Linked DNA regions of Homo sapiens: region 1 is linked to region 2. The links are contacts of gene promoters, found by promoter capture Hi-C in human tissues and cell types (Jung and others, 2019). All regions are on one chromosome and are shown on one strand. Each heading gives the region's core, a stretch centred on a gene start or on the middle of the fragment in contact. The rest is flanking DNA. Distances are from core to core; before and after follow the strand shown. Region 1 overlaps SLC44A1 (solute carrier family 44 member 1). Region 2 holds the start of SLC44A1 (solute carrier family 44 member 1).

What was found. Contacts are between HindIII fragments. The study calls those that stand out against the background at their distance.
Region 1: a fragment that was not itself captured here is called in contact with the fragment with the promoter of SLC44A1 in region 2 in 3 of the 25 tissues and cell types used here (dorsolateral prefrontal cortex, hippocampus and mesenchymal stem cells).

The regions. Positions count from the first base shown.
Region 1 is chr9:105,364,146-105,369,156 of GRCh38, reverse strand. It overlaps SLC44A1 (solute carrier family 44 member 1), which reads right to left. Exons shown (of 16, transcript NM_080546.5): 10 at 4,437-4,602; 11 at 3,518-3,674; 12 at 2,728-2,811. Among named protein-coding and RNA genes, the nearest start is that of FSD1L, 81 kb to the left of the region's middle. The HindIII fragment of the contact is 5,581 bases long and covers 1-4,430 here.
Region 2 is chr9:105,242,849-105,247,830 of GRCh38, reverse strand. It overlaps SLC44A1 (solute carrier family 44 member 1), which reads right to left and starts at 3,180. Exons shown (of 16, transcript NM_080546.5): 1 at 2,927-3,180. The coding sequence starts at 2,962. LOC112268038 (a long non-coding RNA gene) reads left to right here and starts at 2,238. Exons shown (of 3, transcript XR_002956866.2): 1 at 2,238-2,812. RefSeq lists silencers at 2,238-2,317, 2,658-2,797, 2,808-3,407 and enhancers at 1,730-2,633, 2,634-3,538. The HindIII fragment of the contact is 14,998 bases long and covers 1-4,982 here.

The sequences.
Region 1 (5,011 bases), core at 391-2,890, 120 kb before region 2:
GTCAAACCCATACTGTAGGCTTTATCTAATTTTGTTCTAAATTCTTAGACTTTTTCAAGGTCATAAAAATTACAAGTGTGTTGCAAATCTTAATTTCAACAGGCTTTCTTTCTTTTTTCTTGAAAGAGTCTCACTCTGTTGCCCAGGCTGGAATGCAATGGCTCAATCTCGGCTCACTACAACCTCCACCTCCCAGGTTCAAGCGATTCTCCTGCCTCGGCCTCCGGAGTAGCTGGGACTACAGGCACGAGCCAGCACACCTGGCTAATTTTTGTATTTTTAGTAGAGATGGGGTTTCACCATGTTGGCCAAGATGGTCTCGAACTCCTGACCTCAAATGATCCACCTGCCTCGGCCTCCAAAAGTGTTGGGATTACAGGCGTGAGCCACCGTGCCTGACCTCAATAGATTTTCTTTAAAAACATAATTGTCGTAGTTTACAGAATGAATCATTACAATTTGAGATGTGTGCGTATTTTCTATAATAAACCATATTTTTGTTTGCTTACACCACTCAGAAATGTATATATATTTATATGTATATAAGTGTGATATAATGGCAGCAGTGTGATATACTGGAAAGAGCAAGGCAAAATGATTTGAAAACTTCTTCCACCTTTAGGTCTCGTGATTTGCCACAAGATGCCAGTCTCAATTTTCTCATCTATGAAACAGATGAGAAAATAATGCTAGCCTTACAGAGTTGTGTTGACCACATTTCAAGTGTGGCATTTCCTATGAGCCCAGGAGACATGAAGCTCTGCAGGTGATCAGTCCCCACATTGTAGCACTTTGTATTCCCAAATAGAACTACAAAGTATGAGTTCAGAACACCTCTCCCTAAGCCTTTCCTCACATGTTTGATTTACTACTATTTTAATGTTCCACTTAAAACTTCAAACATCGTGCCTACGAAATGCTGATCCAAAATGGACAAAATCTGTAAAAAAAAAAAAAGACCAACATCTCAGGGTTGTTGGTACTAAATCACTGACTAATGTTTAGCTTGGGATATGCTGAAAACCTTCCATTTGTTAACCTTTTATCGACTATCTTGATATCATATGACTTGTTTTCTTCCTTCAGTATAACTGCACATCTCCTTTTCAGGATTTTTATAGTTTTGTATCACCCTGTTAGTCTTTTTGAGTCTAAATATTCACTAATATAATTAACAGTTCATTCAGAAAACACTTAAGGACCACCTATTGTATACTGGGCACTGTGCTAGCTTCTGAGGAGACCAAGAAAAAGAAGAACTTTAAAGGAGCTAGAAGTTTAAAGGTAAAGTTAACAGATAACTTCGATATAGTGTTGTTAGTATTTGAATACTAAGGTATGACCTCAGCTTCTAACTCTGCTGAGTTAGAAGCTCAGCAGAGGGGCTGGGGTGAAGAGGGATGGCTTCTTGGAGGTGACGCTCAGGCAGAATCATTAAGGTTCAGTAGGAACTAGTCAGATTCCAGGCACATTTGGAAAACTGCAAAAGCAAAAGGTGCCTGGGGGTACGGCAGTAGGATTGAGACTAGAGATCTGGGCTTAGCACATCTCTCCGAGGATAAGCTATTTAGTGATGGGTATAAAAATGCAATTATGATCATCTTTAGTGTATCCATTACCTTTCTGATAAAGATGACTTGGCCTCAAACCAATTTTAAAGAACACAATTTTTCAGGTTGTTATGGCCTTACAAATTATTTTAAGAATGAGCTTCCAAACACTTGTACATCCATAGGGAATATTATGACCTATAAGAATGTATTTTGCTAATGAAACATCATACCTACTTTCTCATATTAACCATAGAACCCAATAAAGCAAAGTCCAGGCATGCTCAATACCATGGGCATAGAACTATCAACCTGTGACTATCTTGGAGTGAATGGAAAGTGCAATGCTACTCTTCAATCACTTAGCAGTAAATGGTGAGAAAGTCAATTTTATCTCTGGCCTATTAGATGAGGGCATTAATACATTAGAATTGATTTTTAGGGAATGGAAAAGTAACTTAAAAAAATAAAGAAAAGAAGGAAGGAGTGCCCCACAGAGACTCCCAGATCCTCAGATATAGAAAGATAGAGGACTAACCCATTCACCTAGGCCCTTTTATCCTATAAATATCAATTCTTCCATTCAACCTTATTAAGTAGTACTTCCTTTGATAATATTTCCCAGGCCAATATCATAGTGTTTAGCAGTTGGGTCAAAAAAAAAAAAAGTATCAGCATAGAGAGCACACTAGTTCGAATGATAGTAGCTAGTTGCAAAGAGGGATAAAGTGTCACAACAGCTTTACACTGAAGTTTTCAAACAACATTTTTAAAAATGAAAGGGTAATCATAGCCACAGTAGTCAGATTCTTAGGAAAAACTTAAAAAATGAAGGAATGTGAATTAAGGGATGAGAGATAAATGTTTTTCCTGAAAGACGAACCAGAGTGATGTTTTATCTATTTATTAAAATAAAAATAATAACATATGTAACAAATCTGTACATGTACTCCCTAAACCTAAAAGTTGGAAAAAATTAAAATAATAATGAGCCTTGGTAAGCATATACATTAATTTAAAAAATAAGAATATGATTGAAATAGACATACTTTATCAAGGCACAATGTACAATACCACAAGAAAAACATAACATCTTTCAATTAAGTTTATCTTGGGAGAAGAAACAATGAACCTATCTTTGAAAGTAAATATTAGATTTATTTTTAAAATATTTTACCTGATTTAAATAATTTAGGCACTTTTCAAGACACCAAAGGCAACAAATGCAAGATTTCAGCACACATCGTGCACAAGCATTTTCCTGGATGGGGGAAAAATGGAAATAATAAAAAAACCAAAGAATCAAACTGTCACATAGAAGACTTCAAACGTTAGAAAAATAAATAAAAATTTAAAAATCACAATTTATGCTTCAAAGCCTCCATACTTGTCCACTTTCTCCTTAAAACATAATGACTGAATTATTTTTAATAAGTTCAATTAAATATTTATTTAGTCTCTACTGCATATACAGTGAAGTTTATAACACCTGCAAGGAACTTACAATCTAGTAGGAGAAAAAAAATACCAAACACAAAAAAGGTTAGAATCAGAATATAGTATAGATACTAAGTGTTATGAGAGTGGAGAACAAAGAGACAGCATTGTTTGGGAGATGGGAGGAATCAGGAAAGGTTTCTACAAAGGAGTAGAATTTGAGCTAAACTAGTTGAAGTGCATGTTATTCCCACAGTCAAGGAAGGGAAGAAGTTCTAAGGAGGAAGGTATGTGAGTCAACAGAGAGGAAGAGCAGCACAGGATACTTTTAGTTACTAGTGACTGGATGAATTTTGCCAGAGCATATGGAGTGCATGAGTGGGAGACAAGGGAGAAGGGCTGGATTTTGCCTTGTAAAGACTTTGAAGAAAACACAACTTTGTATTTAACATTATTGGGTGCTTTACTACATGCAGAACTGAGGTCTGGAATGTGCCCACAGAAAGTACAGAAATGCATTTTCCCCTTACCTTTCCTTTGAGCTGACTGTGAATATACATAAGGATCATTCGCGGAATTTTGACTAATGTGATAATGAAAGATCCTTTTGCCACCGTACCTAGGTGGTAACGAATAAGGCGATTTACTGATGCCAAAATAGGTGTAAATGGCAAATTCCTTTTATCCCTATTTAAAAAATGACCAAAAAGACAATTAAAACAAAGCCTAGATCAGGATGGAAACACAGGTATGGTTTAGAGTCCAACGCAGTGAAAAAAAAAATCAGCTCATCATTCTTATTTTAGCTTTATGACAAAATGGCCAAGTGATATATAACTATTACAAATGCTACAGACATGCTATATAAAATTAATGTCATTGCTCTATGGTAGTTTCATGGGGTTCTGATGCTCTAATACTTCAAGTTAAATAAAACTGTGCTCTGAAAGCTTTTATTAGTGAATACTTATGGGGTCATCAGAAAACAGAATTTAAAAAGATGTTAAATTTAGACTTGGCATCTAATTATAATAGAAAATTATGAGACCTAAAGCTTTCATATTTGGCTCTAAAGTTAGCAAAGGGAACTCACACTTGTTCCGGTCTAAACAAACTAAAAAGACTTGTTGTCCTTTGATGGACTTTTATATAAAGCAAAAGTACATATGGCACCACTATAAGATTTATTCTTCTGCTAAATACAATTTGTGACATCGCAATAAATTTTATGAGACAACTGCAGAAAAGTATAAAGAATAAAACAACAATCTCTCATTTGACCACCTCCCAGAATTATCAACTATATATAACACTCTGTCATATTCATTTCTAATTCTTTTGTTAAAGAAATGAAACTCCTGCCAGCCCCAGTCTGATTCCCTTCCCCTCCAGCCTGCGGACACCATCCCTTAGATGAACTCGAGTTTTCTAATAACAACATATTCTTACCTAGTAAAATAGTATGTTACCACAGCTCCTGCCACTGTCATCTGCTGACATGCTAGAATAAATTCACTGATCCAAATCAGGCCCACCACATGGTACCACCACATGTACTGCAGAGGCCCAGAAATTTTGAACTCCACAAAGCCTTGCTCATTCTGAACAGGACTGCCTAGGAAAATATCAAGGAAGGAAAGAAGAAGCACATAAAGTACAAATCCAGAAATACGGCAGTTAAGTAGAAGGCAATAGGTCCCTACCCCAAGCCACAAACCTTCTGATCTGTGTGGTATTTCATAAAGGGACAAAAATAACTATCACTTGAAAAGTTGTGAAATTAAGAATTGTACTATTATGCATTTTGATGTCCTCAAAGGCATCATATAAAGCTTTTAAAAGTTGTTATATTTAATAAAACTCTTCTTATATTATCAATTATTTAAGCATGAATTTTCAAACACTTCAGTTTTTTTCAAGGCCTATTATTTATCCAATCATTACAGATTTCTTAGCAAAGTACAGAAATTATTATTATATTCAGTTGCTAAGTGTGTGTGCTGAATGGACAGATAAGTTACATA
Region 2 (4,982 bases), core at 1,931-4,430:
GGTCAGGTCTAGATTCACATTCGATGCCACTTGCCAGCCAGAGGTTCAAATATATGTCTACATATTCCCTCCAGTGACTACTGCTGAGCAACTATTAAGTACAAGGTACAGTGAGGCACTGCAGTAGATACACAAATAAGGAAAACAAAAACAGTTCCTGTGCTCAAGAAGCTTACAATCCAGTAGAAGGCATGAAACAAACATATTCTGAGTGAAAATACATTTGAGACCCCTGATAGGGAGCGGTGGCTCATGTCTGTAATACCAGCACTTTGGGAGGCCGAGGTGGGTAGATCACCCGAGGTCAGGAGTTCGAGACCAGCCTGACCAACATGGCAAAACCCTGTCTCTACCAAAAATACAAAATTAGCCAGATGAGCTGGTGCATACCTATAATCCCAGCTACTTGGGAAGCTGAGGCAGGAAAATCGCTCGAACCCAGGAGGCGGAGGTTGCAGTGAGCTGAGATCGCACCACTGCACTCCAGCAGCCTGGGCAACAAAAGCGAAACCCCGTCTGAAGAAAAACAAAAAAAAGAAGAAAATACTTTTGAGACCCCTAAGAGAGGCTGGAGAAGATGTGGAGTTGCAACCCTATTTTGTTTAAAAACACATATAGGAACAACAGTATTCTAAAACTGGTAATGCTCCTGAAAGGAGAGTTAAAATACCAGCCGATTAGTAACATTTCACAAATGAAGAAGGATGCCAAAAATCTCAAATAAGAAAAAAAAAAAAAAATCACCAGCTCTTTGGCACAAAACCTGCTCCTCAATGCTCCACTGAACACTACAAGTCCCTAAAGCTGAACTTAAAAGCATGTGACAGCTGTTGATTGGTTATAGGAATCCACAGGAAAAAAATGCACCCCTTGGGTGCATGACATGCATCTTATCTGTGGAACAAGGCATGTTCTACAGTGAGAGGAGGTAAAAGAAAAGAAAACGTATACGATAGCATTCTGAAAAGTATGACGTGGAGCTAGACAAATGCAAGACCCACTATCGGTTTTAAAGCAGAGTTCTGATGCAGCACCCATCCCTCCCAAATTTAACTGTTCATGCACTGAACAAGCTATCCATAAACTATCAATACTTTTCTGTCTTAAAGGCATTTCACCACCAAAAGGGAATGTAAATTAACTCAATTCTGAAAAGAAAGGCAATCTGAAAAACACCTTTTTGGTGAAAATTATACTTAAGTAAATATTAAAGAGCACCCAACTAGACCCCCACAAATTCCTAACCAGTTGAAAGTTATGTGCAATTCTACACCTTTATATGTTAATATGAAAACTCTGATATACCAAGCCTCTCCTTCCTAACACCTCTACGTATAGTTTTACTTTGCTATTATAACTGAATAGGAATCTTTAACTACACCAAAAAGCCTGACTATAATGCTAGCAGGAAAAAAAAAAGCTAACGGGTAAGCAAACACTCAAAAAAAAAAAAAAAAGACTGGAGGAATAGGATGATAGGATGGATACCTAATAAAACACAAATGTCCCCCATTCATCTGCAATTCTAGTCATTTTCTCTCTAACAGATCTCAGATTTTCAGAACAAGTATGCAGGTTATTTAAAACTGAGTTATATATAGTCATTTAGCAGCAGCAAAAACACTTCTGGCATTATCACAGATGCTAGCTTTCTGGAGGAATTTTTTCCCCCCAAACTAGCGTTTTTCTTCACCAAGAACCAACCATCCTTTATTTCTAAAAACAAGAGCCCTTTTCTGCCCCCTAAAACAAACAAATCACAGACCACAGTTAATGAAACTACGCTAATGAAACTGTGAGATTACATCCCAGGCGTTGTCAGAGCCTATTTTTCATACACCACCACAAGACAGTTTGATGCAGTATTCCTGATTGCTTTTTATAGTATTTGTAAATACACTCGCTAATCCACTAAATTAGGTAATTTACAAACAGGTCCTCTCAGTTATTAGTGGCCAGTAGTCGAGTTCTATTACATTTGATCCTCGTACAGTTGTCTAAACATTTCCACCCAGGTTAAGGGCTCGGATCCGAGAGAAGGAGGTTGGCGAAATTTGGATGGGGGCAGGGTAGAAGCTGAGAGAAATCTCTGCATCTCAGCCCTCAGCGACAACATTCAGCCAGTGCCCACAGAAAAACTAAATTCGGAACCTCTTCCTCCTGTTACACTGGCAACAAAGAGGGAGTTTCCGTAGCGCTCCCGTCACCCACCAGGTGCCCAATCTCCTTCCCAGCCCAGAGTCGGCGCTCCCGCAGGGGCCTCCGAGTGCGGGGAGGCCGCGGGGCCCGGGTCACGGCACTAAGGGGGGATGGGGTGCAAGCGAGCAAGCGAGGTCTGCGGAGCGGGCCGTGGAAGGGCTCCGGGACCCGCTGAAACCATCTGAACCCAGCCAGGGGGCAGCGGGCAAGAGAAAAGGGACAGAATATCTAATGAAGCAGAAACTGGAATTCGGTGGGAGAGGTGAAGAGCTCTTGCTGGGGGTACACCTGCGAGGAGCACAGAAAACGGGCGGCGGATGGCGGGGAGACTCCACGGAGGTGGAAGAGAGGAGCCAGGCCCGGAAGAACAGGGAAGGGGATGCCACCTGGGGCAGAGGAGGCGCCAGTGCAGCCTCTACCTGCAGGCGGGCGGGACGGGCAGCTCAGGTGTGACTGGGAGGAGGGGGCCGACTGGGGAAGGGGCCGGGAAGAGCTGAGGGCGCACTAGGCGCCGCGCAGAGGCGCCTTTGAGTCGGCAGCCGCGGAGCCAGCGCACGGGCATCGGCGGGACCCGGCGGACGGAAAGGCGGAGTGGGGGTCTTTGGACTGCACGGTGCGCTCAGGGGAGGCTGGGGACAGCGAGAGGTATCGGGCGGCGGGCGCCCGCCGCGCGACGCGGCGCACGGGAGGCATCCGGGCGGGCGGCCGGGAGGCGGGAGCCCCTCACCTGCGCGGCGGAGGAGGCGGAGCTGCAGCAGCCCATGGCGGGGCCGAAGGAGCCCGGAGGCGGCGCCGGGCGCGCAGCTACGCCCCGGAGCCCCTCGGCATGCGAGCCGGCGGGCGCCCGGGGAGGGCGCGGCCTGGCACCGCACGGCTAGGCGGCGGCGGCGGCTGCAGCGGCGGCTGGTACTCAAGAGGCGGCGCGGCTAGAGGCAGGCGCCGGCCACATCCCCCGGCGGCGGCGACGGCGGCTACGCGTCTCCTGCTCTGCTCCTGCTGCAGCAGCTGCTCCCCAGCGGAAAGGGGCGGGCGGCGGCGGCGGCGGCGCCTCCCTCTGTCCCCCCGCCTCCCGCCTCCCGCGCCCAGTCCCTCTCCCGCTCCCTCTCCCGGGCCGCCGCCTCCTCAGCGCCGCGCGCGTCTCCCATCAGACTCCCCGCCCCCAGTGCAGCGCCGTGCTGGTGGCAGGGCGGCGGCAGCCAGAACAAGGCCGGGCCCTTCCGCGCGTGTCAGAGGCTGCGCGGCGCCGGGCTTATTTAGCTGTGGCACCGAGGCAGCTCTCTGCCTCGAGGCTGGAGGGCAACGCGGTCTGAGGCAGCCAAAGACCGGGCCAACTCGCTGCCAAAAAGGGGCCGGATTGCTTCCGGATCTAGGAGGCAAGCGGGACTTCTCCCTCTCCCTACTGGACGCACAACTCAGGATCCTGATGGCTTCTTACCGCCCCGTCGGCTGTTTTTTTTCTCCAGAGGAAAGCGTACACAAGAAACCTTTCCTGGAGAAGGAATAGGTGATAAGAAGACGGGAAGAAACAAGCATCTGTTGCTACTGTCCCCATTTTGCTGATGTGGAAACTGAGGCTTGAAAGGGACCAAGAACCTAATGAAATGTTCCCAAGGTTGAAATGGTAATAAATAGCCAGAAATGAGGAAAAGGCAAAAAGTTATCCAGGCTCGCAAGTCAAAGCCATACTGGATCTAAGCTAAACTTTCTTATACAGGATAGTCTACAAAAAACAATAAGGGGACATTAATTTATTCATATTAAAAATACTTACTGAAGACACACTACGTTCCAGTGACTAGTACTGGGAATAAAGAGGCGAGCAAAAGAGACTTACCAAGTTCCTGTTGCTAAATCAGTAAGACTCAAGGAAGTAGCAACAAGTTAGAGTAGACGTGGTAACTACCTTCAAGAAATTTACAATTCCAAACGAGTCGTTAGGAAATACAGTATGAGGTGAAAACAGTTAAAAAGTGAAAGAAATAAAACTAAAGATAATGATGTTAAAAAAAACCCCACATTATCAGGCACTGTTATAGCCTTCATATGTCATTTCATCTTGTCAAAGAATGTCTCAAAAGACAGCCACAGGAAAGAAAAGAAAAACTTTATTTGCAAAGCTGCAAGGGAGTGAGACTTCCAAAAGGACTGATTCACCAAATATGAGACATCAAGTTTTAAAGATTAGTTAAAGTATAGAGGGAAGAAAAGAACACAGAATTAAATTGACTTTACATGCACTGAAAGGGAATCTAAGCCAAGGAAAGTTGGAATGGTAGCCTGTAAGGGGACAGCTACAGAAAGGGCCAGGGAAGAAGAATTCCTAATTGATGTTTTCCTATGCCATTTCCTGAGTTCGTGACTGTGGACGAGTTATCTCTCCAAATCTCATTGTCCGCTTCTGTGAAATGCTGGTAGCAGGGATGACTGCAAAGGCTTGTGGTCAAGATTAAATAACATAAGAAAGTGCTGCTAGGTCAGCAAGTACTCAACTGATTGAGATCTTGAATTCTTCTGCATTCTTTCTAGTTTCCTTTCAGGTTAATCAGAGGGTCCACCATACCACGGAGCTGGCGAATCCTACATGTGTTTCCCATAACCATTAAACCAATAAATACAAGTGAAGACATAAAACTAATGGTTCTAGTCCCAATTCTGGTTGTAAACTCCAGAATTAGATTGTAAACTCCCTGAGAACAAGGAAAAGTATTTTCTCCTTTGTATCTCCCTCAGCTCTCTCAAATGTTTGTTGAATTATTCAGTGCAGCCAAGAATAAAAAACATTC